Regions from separate parts of the Homo sapiens genome. Here regions 1, 3 and 4 are each linked to region 2. The links are contacts of gene promoters, found by promoter capture Hi-C in blood cells and fetal thymus (Javierre and others, 2016). All regions are on one chromosome and are shown on one strand. The core of a region is centred on a gene start or on the middle of the fragment in contact, and the rest is flanking DNA. Distances in the headings are between cores, read along the strand shown.

Region 1 (3,180 bases), core at 223-2,722, 180 kb after region 2:
TGAGTTCCTTTTAAAAGATGTGAATCAGAGGCTACAGGAGAGACTGCTTGAGACCATCTGGTTTCCTCCAATAGTTTTCCCAGAGTGTCTCCTCTGTGATGGAGAAGAGTATCAGCCCTCTCCAGGGTCCTTCAGTATAAGACAACAGAAAAAGGGCGTTTACTCCTTGAAACGCTTTTGGAAAATTGCACACGTGGACAAAAGGAGAAAGCATGGTATCCTGAATCCCCTGAGCCCTGAGTCCATTACCCCAGCCAGTCTCGTTTCAGTTCTACCCTCAGCCCATCCCCCATCTGGATTATTTTGAAGCAAATCCCAGACATCATCCATAAATATCTCAGTACATCTCTCTAAAAGATAAGGGACTCTTTGGGGAAAAAGCAGAAGCAACCCCATAACTACAATACCATGATCACCCCTAGAAATTATAATTTTGGACCACTGTTTTTTCAGTGCACCAAATAGGCAGAAGCAAAAGGAAAGCAAGCAGGTGACCCCAAGGTCACTCCTTGAGTTTGCAGCTTACCTGAACATCTGGGCTCGGAACCAGCCAGGGGCTTCCTCTCAGCGTGTGCTGTGGGAGAGGCCTTGGAGAGAGAGGGAGCAAGGCGACAACTTGGCCTCTGAGCCCAGGGCTTTTATGCTCTGGTGTGGCGACAGCATACCCCCCGCTAACAGTGGGAAGGAAACACAAATGCTGGTGGCTTCTGGGGTGTTGAGAGGGTCCCGGTGTTCTTGGGGCCCATTTTGTACAAGCGATAACTATTGAAGAAAAGAGAAGAATACAGTTCTTAACCCTTTCCTTATGCCTCACAAATTCAGCTTGATTTAAAAGCCTACTAGGACCATAATTTTAAAACAAAAAGCTTATTAGGAATATGGTGTCTGGAATTTGCTCCACAATTGCAGGAGTAGTTGCAGTTGGGGGGAGGGGGAGCAGGATTTCAGAGGTTGGTGGTTCTTGGTTATGGGTGGTGGACACATGGCATTTCATGATATTATGCTGTCTGCTCTGTGATGGTTCAAAATTCTCCGTAATAATAAAGTTTAAAAAGAAAGGCCTATTAGATTTTTACTTAGCAAGATCTCAGGGTTTTGAAATCGCAGCAGGCAGGCGTGGAGAAAGCAGGCGGAGAGGGATTCCTGTTCTGTGAGTGTTTGTTTTTCTCCTTTTATCTGTCATTTTCAAAACGCTGCTGTGTTTCCTCTGATAATTTATCCTATTTACTTATTAGCTTTTAATTTTTAAAAAGGTAACACATACAGCATAGAGAAGGATAAGAAAACTCTAGCCCAGGACTGCCATAGAAACGCAACAGCAGCCACGTATGTAACTTTAAATTTTCCAGTAGGCACATGTTAAAAAGTAAAAAGAAACATAAGAAATTAATTTTAGTAAGATGTTTATTTAACCCATTATGTAAAATATTATAATTTCAATGTAAAACTAATATTAAAAACTATTGAGATATTTTACATTCCTTTTTCTTAGATTAAGTCTTTGAAACATCGTGTGGATTTTGGCCAGGCGCGGTGGCTCATGCCGGTAATCCCAGCACTTTGGGAGGCCAAGGCGGGCAGATCACTTGAGGTCAGGAGTTCGAGACCAGCCTGACCAACATGTTGAAACCCTGTCTCTACTAAAAATACAAAAAGAAAATTAGCTGGGCGTGGTGGTGCATGCCTGTAGTCCCAGCTACTGGGGAGGCTGAGGCAGGAGAATCATTTGAACCTGGGAGGTGGAGGTTGTGATGAGCCAAGATCACGCCACTGCACTCCAGCCTGGGTGACAGAGTGAGACTGCATCTCAAAAAAAAAAAGAAAAGAAACATTGTGTGGGTTTGACACTTACATCTCCTGACATCTCCATTTGCATTAGCCACGTTTTTCTATGCACAGCAGCCTCGCATGTCTAGGGGCTGCCATATTGGTCAGCACAGCTCTGGAGAGTACAAAAGGGACACAAAAAAGATCACTCTCTGTTCTGACCTCCAGCTGACCCCTACCTGCCAGCCCTCTGGTCCACTTCCCAGAGGCAACCTCTGTAACCAGTGTCTTAAAAAATATCTTGTGATCCTCCAAGCTTTTGTAACTTAAGCAAATGAAATACCATTTATCTCCCTGTTTCTTACCTAAATGGAAACATTTCACAGGCGTTCCTTTATACTTTCCCTTTTCACTTAATGTGTTCTATTCAATGGCTGTTCTGATGATGCCTTGCTATGTTTTGTGGGAGAACCTCGCCAGGTACACCTTCTACCCTCAGCGTCAGGCCCAGATACCCATATTCAGAAATACATCTGACTCTGGGGACAGTGATTCCTTAAGGGACGTGGGCCTCTTCTTAGGTGTCACCTCCTTAAAGCTACAGCCAGTATCCCTGGCCTGAGGGACTGGTATGTGTGAGGGCTTACGGCAGAGCCCGGGACACCCTTGCCCTTTTGAGATCCTGCAAAGTGCCGGTCTGGCCAGCAGATGTCCTGGAGGCCGCACCTCATAGGTGGAAGGTTCTGGTGCATTTGGCTGCTGCCCCAACACAGACCTCACAGTGCCTGCCCACGATCCCTGGGTTGATTTTGTGGCTGGTGGTTTCCCTGAGCAGCGTCCATCTGCTTCAGAGAGCTGAGGAGGTGGCTGGGTGAGCAAGCCTCTTCTGCCCTTCTCCCTGGTGACGCTCATGTTCAAGGACTCCCAGACAAACCCCCCCTCACTCTCTGGAGCTGATGGGACCTGGGGAGGAGCCTTTCCTTGTCAGCTCCTTGGCTGGTCTCCACATGCTTTGATTCCAGCTCAGAGGAACTCACTTGAGAATGCTGGTTTTTATCAGCACCCCAGCCAGCAGAGTGAGGTCTTTGGATCTTGAGCTGCAGTCTCTGAGTTGGGCCTCCTTCCTCTTTTGTTTCAGTCACTTCTTCACGAACGATCCTGGATGCAAATGAAGAATTTAAGTCCATGTCGGGCACCATCCAGCTGGGCCGGAAGCTTATCACAAAATACAATCGCCGGGAGCTGACGGACAAGCTTCTCATCTTCCTTGCGCTAGCCCTGTTTCTTGCTACGGTCCTCTATATTGTGAAAAAGCGGCTCTTTCCATTTTTGTGAGATCCCAAAGGTGCCAGTTCTGGCCCTTTCAGCTCCTGTTTCAGGATCTGTCCTGGTTCCTGAGCTCTAGGCTGCTAA
Region 2 (3,000 bases), core at 407-2,906:
GGTGGCTTATGCCAGTAATCCCGGCACTTTGGGAGGCTGAGGTGGAGGATCCCTTCAGGCCAGGAGTTTAAGACCCACCGGGGCAACATAGCGAGGCTCTGTCTCTACAAAACATTTTAAAAATTAGCTGGTGTGGTGGTGCACACCTGTAGTCCCAGCTCCTCAGGAGGCTGAGGCAGAAGGATGGCTTGAGCCCGGGAGTTCCAGGCAGCAGTGAGCTATGGAGCACCACTGCACTCCAGCCTGGGTGACAGAGCAAGGCCCTGTCTCAAAAAACAAACAAACAAACAAAACTGTTTTACCTTTCTTTTTCTTTCTTTCTTTTTTTTTTTTTTTTTGAGGCAGAGTTTCACTCTGTCGCCAAGGCTGGAGTGCAGTGGTGCGATCTCAGCTCATTATAACCTCTGCCTCCCAGGGATTCAAGCGGTTCTTGTTCCTCAGCCTCCTGAGTGGCTGGGACTACAGGTGCATACCTGGCCAATTTTTGTATTTTTAGTAGAGATGGGATTTCACCATGTTGCCCAGGCTAGTCTTGAACTACTGACCTCAGGTGATCTGCCCGCCTCGGCCTCCCAAAGTGCTGGGATTACAGGTGTGAGCCACCATGCCTGGCCTGTTTTTCTTCTTACCATTCTGGCTAATTTCTACTTGTCTTTCAAGGCTCAGCAAGGACGAGTTGGGTAGAAAGCCTTGCAGGGTCGTCCACTTACTTTCACACTGCATTGAGTCGCCTGTTTGCAAGGTCATCTGCTCCCCAGAATGTGAACTCCCTCAGGGGTGCCTGATTGACTTCTGTAACTCCAGAGCCTGGCACAGCACACAAGATAAATAGTGGTGCGCTAGTTAAGAGCTCTGGCCTTGAAAATCAGATAATCAGGGGTTGAATCCTGGCCCTGCCACTTACTATGTGACTTTGGGCAAGATCCTTATCCTCTTCCCTGGGCCTCAGTTTCTTCAACTGCAAAGTGGGGATAATAATTACAATTACCTCATAGGCTGAAGTGAGGAGTTCAACACGGGCTCATGCACTTTTTTTTTTTTCTTTTGAGACAGAGTGTTGTTCTGTTGCCCAGGCTGGAGTGCAGTGGCGCAATCTCGGCTCACTGCAACCTCCACCTCCCGAGTTCAATTGATTCTCCTGCCTCAGCCTCCTGAGTAGCTGGGACCACAGGCGCGCACCACCACACCCAGCTAATTTTTGTATTTTTAGTAGAGACAGGGTTACACCATGTTGGCCAGGCTGGTCTCGAACTCCTGACCTCAAGTGATCCGCCTGCCTCAGCCTGCCAAAGTGCTGGGATTACAGGCGTGAGCCACCGCACCCGGCCTGGGGCTCATGAACTTAAAGATCATGGCCCAGTGCCAGGCACACGGGAATTCAGAATAGTAAGGGACAACTATTGTTAAGTTCTCTATGTCTGTTGCATAAGTAGATGAGGCTGTAGATAACTACACTCTTTGTCTAAAAGGGCCAAGTTCTCATCAGAACACTTTGCTGAGCCCCGGGTGACCGAATCCCTAGCTCTGGGGTGAGCGACATGCCTCCAAGGAGCTGCAGCCAGGAGACAGCCAGGCGAAGGCGGGGCTCTGCCTCTGGGCTCCCCGAGGGGCGGAGGCCGGCGCGCGGGTCACGTGGGGGCGCGGGAGGCGGGGCTTGCACACGCTGGTCACGCGGTCAGCTATTGACACTTCCTGGTGGGATCCGAGTGAGGCGACGGGGTAGGGGTTGGCGCTCAGGCGGCGACCATGGCGTATCACGGCCTCACTGTGCCTCTCATTGTGATGAGCGTGTTCTGGGGCTTCGTCGGCTTCTTGGTGCCTTGGTTCATCCCTAAGGGTCCTAACCGGGGGTAAGTGCGTGAGGCCCGCCTTGGGAGGAACGGGCGGTGAGGAGCTAGCAGGCCGGGGCGGGGAAAGGCACGACCCCCACACGGGTCAGAGAACGTTGCATGGGCGCCCCCCGCGCTGCAGAGTCAGGCCCCCGACCCGGCGGAACTCCTTGTGTTCCTTTTCGCAGCAGCTTCAGTGTCCTCCGGCCTGAGCGAGTGGAGGGTGACCTTTGGTGGACCCCCCTTGGAAACGAGTTTCAGGGGAATTTTTTCTCATCATAGTCCTGTGTGGGGAGGTGCAGTCGGAAATGAGCAGGCCGAATCTGGGAGAAACTGGGGTTTGTCCCTAGTCGACTGTCCCCCTTTAGCCCTGCCTTCCACCCACATGAGGCCTCGTTTGCCTGAACTTAAGGATCAAATAAATAAAACAGAAATTGGCTTCTCTGCCTCCCATGCTGTCGCGGTTGCGTACAGAACAAGCTCCTTCGACAACATTGAGCCCAGGCCTTGCATCTAGTGGGCGCCAGGAGGCGGTTGGGGCCTGATCTAAAGCGAGATTAATTACCAAAGAGCAGGAGGTATTGTTGAGAAACCCCTGCGTCATGCCTTTTGGAGGGCGCTCCGGCTCTTGTATGTGAGTGTAAGAAGTGCTTAGAATGATTGGCTAAGAAAGATTTTGTTTTTCCAGACTTCTTTGTTGGTTAGAGCTTTGTCTCTTTTGGAATTAAACTTTTTAACTGTAGTATAAAATAGAGGCTTAATCTTCAAAGGAGCCTTGGAACACCCTCTTCCTGGTTCCTCTTTTGCTTCTCAGTCATTTTTTTCTCAGTTCAAGATGATGAGAGGTGAAACTTCGACTGAAGTCAGTTTGTCAGAAACACCATCTCTTGCTTTATTCTTGAACCTAATTGGTGGCTTCATAGTGCCTGGTTTTCATAGTACCTTGTATGCACAGGAGGCACCCAATAAATACCTGTTGAGTGAATAGTTCTATTGTCTTTATTAAAAGAAAAAGATTTTTGGCCAGGTGCCGTGGCTCACGCCTGTAATCCCAGCACTTTGGGAGGCCAAGGCGGGCGGATCACGAGGTCAGGAGATCGAGACCATCCTGGCTAACACGGTGAAACCCGTCTCTACTAAAAACACAAAAAATTAGCCGGGCGTGGTGGCG
Region 3 (3,188 bases), core at 114-2,613, 140 kb after region 2:
AGTTATTTTTACCTTTTTATTTTTTAATATAAACATCTATATGTTTGGTAAGCTTATGTACTCCTTTACACTTGAAAGTCAGTTTTACCAGGTATAAAATCCTCAACTCGTATTTTCTTTCCTTGAGTATCTTGAATATGAGTCTCCATTTTCTTTTGGCATAAAGTGTTGCTATAGAAAAGCTAATACTGGCTGGGCTTGGTGGCTCATGCCTGTAATCCCAACACTTTGGGAGGCCAAGGCGGGCAGATCACTTGAGGTCAGGAGTTCGAGACCAGCCTGGCCAACATGGTAAAACCCTGTCTCTACTAAACATACAAAAATTAGCTGGGCGTGGTGGCAGGTGCCTGTAATCCCAGGTACTTGGGAGGCTGAGGCAGGAGAATCGCTTGAATGCAGGAGGGGTGGAGGTTACAGTGAGCCAAGATTAGACCACTGCACTCTAGCCTGGGTGACAGAGCAAAACTCTGTCTCAAAAAAAAAAAAAAAAAAAGAAAAAAGAAAAGCCAATATTGACTAATTATTTTTTCCTTATAAGTACTTTGCTGTTTTTGCTTAGGTGCCAAAAGGATTTTTTCTTTAAATACCAGTGATTTTGCTAAGTTATATCTTAGAGTTGGTCATTTTTAGTTGACATTTTTATGTTTATACTGTGTTCTTTCAATATGTACTTTCAAATGTTTTTAGTGTTTGATCTGTTCCCTTGCTTTGCTTTTCTTCTGTAGGGACTCTTATTATCTATAGATTGGCTCTTTTTGGCCCATCTTTAGTATTCGTCTGTCTTTCTTTTCTCTTTTCTTCTTCTTTCTTCCTTCTTCTTCTTTCTTCTTCTTCTTTTTTTTTTTTTTTTTGAGACAGTGTTTTGCTCTGTCACCCAGGCAGTAGTGCAGTGGCACAATCTTAGCTCACTGCAGCCTCCACCTCCCAGGTTCAGGTGATTCTCCTGCCTCAGCCTCCTGAGTAGCTGGGATTACAGGCACCCACCACCACACCTGGCTAATTTTTGTATTTTTTAGTAGAGGTGGGGTTTCACCATGTTGGCCAGGCTGGTCTCGAACTCCTGACTTCAAATGATCTTCCTGCCTTGTGTCACTTTTTCTTGAATCATTTTTATCTCTTCATTTTTAACATTATTTCTCCTTTTTACCTTCTGTTTCTCTTAAAGCATTATTTGCTGTCATTACTTGCTGATCTTAGGTTCCTTTTACTTTCAGGAATTTTCCCCTGTATTTCTAATTATTTTCTGAATTCTGTCACCTTATTTCTTAGTTATTCTATTTCTGATTTATGTTCTTTCATGTATCGTGCCATTTTCTTTAATGTCTTTTATTCTCTTTTTTCTTAGAAAAAGTTGTGGGATTCTGACCTTGATACTTCTCTGTTGTTCATATATGTGTGAAATTAGTTCCTCTGAACTTTTAAAAGAAGGTTTGGTTCAGAATAGCTTTTCTTTTTTCACAGAGTCTCCGCTTTTCAGTTAACATTTAAAAACATGGCATCCGGGCACGGTGGCTCACGCCTGTAATCCCAGCACTTTGGGAGGCCGAGGCAGGCAGATCACGAGGTCAGGAGATCGAGATCATCCTGGCTAACATGGTGAAACCCCGTCTCTACTAAAAATACAAAAAAAAAGCTGGGTGTGGTGGCACGCGCCGGTAGTCCCAGCTACTTGGGAGGCTGAGGCAGGAGAATTGCTTGAACCCAGGAGGCAGAGGTTACAGTGAGCCAAGATTGTGCCACTGCGCTCCCGCCTGGGCGACAGAGCGAGACTCCTTTTCAAAAAAACAAAACAAAACAAAAAAACATGGCACGCCAGGTTTGGTGGCTTTTTCCTGTAATCCCAGTCACTTGGAAGGCTGAGGCAGGAGGATCATGTGAGGTCAAGAGTTCTAGACCAGCCTGGGCAACATGGCAACCCATCTCTGAAACAAAAACAAAAAAATGGCACCTGTCTTTCTGAGATTTCTTGTTCTGCTTCCCTCCCTCATTTTATTTGGACCATCTCTGTTTCATATCTTTAGTTCCTTTCTTGCTCAATGTTAATTTCAACCCCAGGGTTTTTTGTTTTGTTTTGAGACAGAGTCTCACTCTGTCGCCCAGGCTGGAGTGCAGTGGCGTGATCTTGGCTCCCTGCAGCCTCTGCCTCCCAGGTTCAAGCGATTTTCCTGCCTCAGCCTCCCCAGTAGCTGGGATTACAGGTGCACACCACCACGCCCGGCTGATTTTTGTGTTTTTACTGGGGATGGGGTTTCACCATGTTGGCCAGGCTAGTATCAAACTCCTGACATCAAGTGATCTGCCCGCCTTGGCCTCCCAAAGTATTGGGATTACAGGCCTGAGCCACTGCACCTGGCCAGTTTTTTTTGTTTTATCACGGCTTGCTCCTGTCCTGCAAGAGTCCTGGCTGGTCCATTTTCAGAGTTCACAGAGGCTCAACTGTGGGCCCCTTCACTTCTGACTGTGGGCTCCTTGTACTCACCTTGTATTCAATATTGGGTTGGAGAAAATCCCTCACAGCGTTAGCTGCAGTTCTCAAGTTGACTCTGCTGTACTTGCCAGTGGGTAACCTATTCGCTATATGGAAATTTTTTTTTGTTCTCATGTCCATTACTTCCTTTTGGCCCATCCACATAAATATTGATAAATATTGATAATGCTGTTGCCATACATGTCTTAAAGCTTTTGGTAGTTTGTTCCTACCTTCTTGAATGTTCCTAGGGATACCTTATCACTTGTAAATGTTTTCCATGGGTTTATGGTTTTGCCATTTAGTTGCTCTGTTTTTATATGGGGAAATGAAGATTAAAAATCTATGTGGTGGCTGAGCACAGTGGCTCATGCCTGTAATCCCAACACTTTGGGAGGCTGAGGTGGGAGGATCGATTGAGGTCAGGAGCTCAAGACCAGCCTGAACCTGGAAGGTCAAGGCTTCAATGAGCAGGGTGATTGCACCACTGCACTCCAGCCTGGGCAACAGAGTGAGACCCTTTCTCAAAAACAACAATAACAACAACTATACAGCTGTCTTCCCAGAATTTGCCTCTGGACCAGTTTAAATGGGTTGGAGTTTCTTTTTCTTTTTTTTTTTTTTTTTTTTGAGACAGTCTCCCTCTGTCACCCAGGCTAGAGTGCAGTGGCACTATCTTGACTCACTGCAACCTCCGCCTCCTGGGTTCAAGTGGTTCTTA
Region 4 (2,812 bases), core at 156-2,655, 220 kb after region 2:
CTCCCTCTCTCTTTTCTTTCTTTCTTTCTTTCTTTTTCTTCTCTCCTTCCTTCCTCTCTCCCTCCCTCCCTCCTTTCTTTCTTTCTTCTTTCCTTCCTTCTTTCTCTTTCTTTCTTTCTTTCTTTCTTCTCTCCTTCCTTCCTTCCTCCCTCCCTTTCTCCCTCTCTCCCTCTTCCTCTCTCTCTCTCCCTCTCTCTCTTTCTTTCTTTCCTTCCTTCCTTCCTTCTTGCTTTCTTTCTTTCTTTCTTCTCTCCTTCCTTCCTTCCTCCCTCTCTCTCCTTCTCTCCCTCTCTCCCTCTCTTTCCTTCCTTCCTTCCTTCCTTCCTTCCTTCCTTCCTTCCTTCCTTCCTTCCTTCCTTCCTTCCTTCTTTCTTTCAACAGAGTCTCACTCTGTTGCCCAGGTTGGAGTGCAGTGGCATGATTTTGGCTCACTGCAACCTCCACCTCCTGGGTTCAAGTAATTTTCTCGCCTCAGCTTCCTAGGTAGCTGGGATTACAGGTGCGCACCATGACGCCCGGCTAATTTTTGTATTTTTAGTAGAGACAGGGTTTCACTGTGTTGGCCAAGCTGGTCTCGAACTCCTGACCTCAGGTGATCTGTCCACCTTGGCCTCCCAAAATGCTGGGATTACAGGCATAAGCCATTGCATCCAGCTCTTTTTCTTATTTGGCTTAGTAACCCTGTGATGTAGGTCCTACTATTCTCATTTTATGAATGAGAGCATTGAGGTCCAGATAAGTTAGTAACTGGCCCTAGGTCACAAGGTCCTGTAAGAGCAGAACGTAGCCTCAGCAGTCTGGCCCTAGGGTCTGAGCTCCCATCAAGTATAAAATAAGTCCTGTAAAGGGAATGCTGAGCTCAGCTGGGGCAGGTGGCAGAGGCAGGATGGAAGAGGCCTCCCTTGACCTGAGACTTGAAGGATGAGGAGGACTTACAGGGAGTCAGACTGGGAAGGGTATTCCCGGCAGAGGGAGCAGCACATGCTAAGGTGCAGGGTGAGATAGATCATGGCTGCTGGGAATCTACAAGTGGTTAAGTGCTGCCAGAGAGTAAATTTCTGGAGGCAGCAGGTGGGAGATGAGGCTGGAGGGAAGGGCTTGTCATGTGGCAGGGATTGTTCCTTTTCTCCTCTATATAGAGTAACTGAATTTCCTGATGGGCATTAACATGAATATCAGCTTAACCCTGCATTTGTCAGCCTCCCTTGCAGCTAGGTAGGTATGGCAAGGTGACTATTTCAGATAATGAGATGAGTGAAAGTTCTGGATTGTGCCCTTAAAGGAACACGAGCCAGGCGTGGTGCCCACGCCTGTAATCCCAGCACTTTGGGAGGCCGAGGAGGGCAGATCACCTGAGGTTAGGAGTTCGAGACCAGCCTGACCAACATGAAGAAACCCTGTCTCTACTAAAAATTCAAAAGATAAAAATAAAAATTAGCCAGGTGTGGGGGCGCATTCCTGTAATCCCAGCTACTTGGGAGGCTGAGGCAGAAGAATCGCTTGAACCCGGGAGGCGGAGGTTGCATAGAGCCAAGGTTGCCCCATTACACTCCAGCCTAGGCAACATGAGTGAAACTCTGTCTCAAAAAAAAAAAAAAAAAAAAAAAAAGGAACAAGAGTGCTCCCCTTCCCTTCTTGGGGTGAAGGAGCCATCTAAGACCAGGAGGTGGCTCCTGCATTTTAAAAATTACTTTTTACCCAATGATTCTGTTAGAGACATGGCTGCCACATGTTAAGAATGAATTGCAGAAGATAAGTAGAGCCTGGATTCCCAATACCATCAAGCCACAAATCAGAGCAAATTTTACACAAAAAAGATAGAACCTTCTCATTTGTTTAGGTAATTGTAGTTTGGGTCTTTTTGTTGTAGCAGCCTAACTTTATCCTAACCATTGCATCATACAACTTCATTATACCATGCAGAGGAATTTAGATTTTTTCCTCAGATCAGGGGCTGCAAATCTAAGGCCTACAGGGACCAGGCAGGCCATGTGGCAGGCTGGATGTTTCTTTTCACCAAGAAATATACTCTTTGCTGTTCTCCTTGAAACAAAGGACCCTCTTCATCTATCTCTAATTCTCCAAGACATGTATATAGAAATCTTTCTCTGTTCTAAACTGCTATAAGAAAAACAACTAGCTGGGGTCAGTGGTATGCGCCTGTAGTCCCAGCTACTGAGGAGAGAGGATCGTTTGAGACCAGGCATTCAAGGCTAGAATGAGCTATGATCATGCCAATGTGCTCTAGCCTGGGTGACAGAGCAAGACCCCGTCTCTAAAAAAATTTTTTTTTAATTGGCACCATCATTTTATTGGGGAGCAATAGGGAGTGGTGGGGACTGTGGTGTAGTGGATGAAGATACCTCAGGTCAAGCTGCCACGGAGCTTCTCTAGTTGCTGCCACATGGGAACAGGGATCCAATTTCTCAGGAGGTTCATGACCTGGATTTGTAAATTTCGCAGTTTATATAGGGGAGGAACTCAGAGGCTGTTGAGAGAGCTGCCACTCAGAGGCCTCAGGGAAAGGCTCGGTCCCACGGACAGTCTGAAGCTCCATACAGCAGTGTGAGTCCTGTGCACTCCAGGCCACCTGGAACCAAGATGATGCAGGACAAAAGAGAAGTCCATTGGGACCAGCACAGAGCCCCACTCCCCGAGCCCTGCTGGCTATGCCGAGGAGGAACAGGAGGCCATTTTCTGAGCTCCTGGTATAATCTTTACAGCTGTGACATAAATATTCATAAAGATCACATACATTGTGCTCGTTTTTTAAAGTTAGCCCTGCCTGGGCCAAACAAAACTAGTTTATGGC

What was found. The method cuts DNA at HindIII sites, captures the fragments that hold promoters and counts their contacts. A CHiCAGO score of 5 or more calls a contact.
Region 1: a contact is called between a fragment that was not itself captured here and the fragment with the promoter of ATP6V0E1 in region 2, in 1 of 17 cell types (non-activated CD4 T cells). The highest score is 6.8, in non-activated CD4 T cells.
Region 3: a contact is called between a fragment that was not itself captured here and the fragment with the promoter of ATP6V0E1 in region 2, in 6 of 17 cell types (naive CD8 T cells, non-activated CD4 T cells, naive CD4 T cells and 3 more). The highest score is 6.2, in naive CD8 T cells.
Region 4: a contact is called between a fragment that was not itself captured here and the fragment with the promoter of ATP6V0E1 in region 2, in 1 of 17 cell types (naive CD4 T cells). The highest score is 5.1, in naive CD4 T cells.

Annotation. Positions count from the first base shown.
Region 1 is chr5:173,160,820-173,163,999 of GRCh38, forward strand. It overlaps BNIP1 (BCL2 interacting protein 1), which reads left to right. Exons shown (of 6, transcript NM_001205.3): 6 at 2,906-3,180. The coding sequence ends at 3,102. Among named protein-coding and RNA genes, the nearest start is that of BNIP1, 18 kb to the left of the region's middle. The HindIII fragment of the contact is 1,217 bases long and covers 865-2,081 here.
Region 2 is chr5:172,982,115-172,985,114 of GRCh38, forward strand. It overlaps ATP6V0E1 (ATPase H+ transporting V0 subunit e1), which reads left to right and starts at 1,657. Exons shown (of 4, transcript NM_003945.4): 1 at 1,657-1,850. The coding sequence starts at 1,747. RefSeq lists an enhancer at 1,472-1,766 and a silencer at 1,532-1,711. The HindIII fragment of the contact is 8,334 bases long and covers 1-3,000 here.
Region 3 is chr5:173,124,086-173,127,273 of GRCh38, forward strand. All of the region lies in intron 8 of CREBRF (CREB3 regulatory factor), which reads left to right. Among named protein-coding and RNA genes, the nearest start is that of BNIP1, 19 kb to the right of the region's middle. The HindIII fragment of the contact is 2,627 bases long and covers 51-2,677 here.
Region 4 is chr5:173,198,684-173,201,495 of GRCh38, forward strand. No RefSeq gene overlaps it. Among named protein-coding and RNA genes, the nearest start is that of NKX2-5, 35 kb to the right of the region's middle. The HindIII fragment of the contact is 4,940 bases long and covers 1-2,812 here.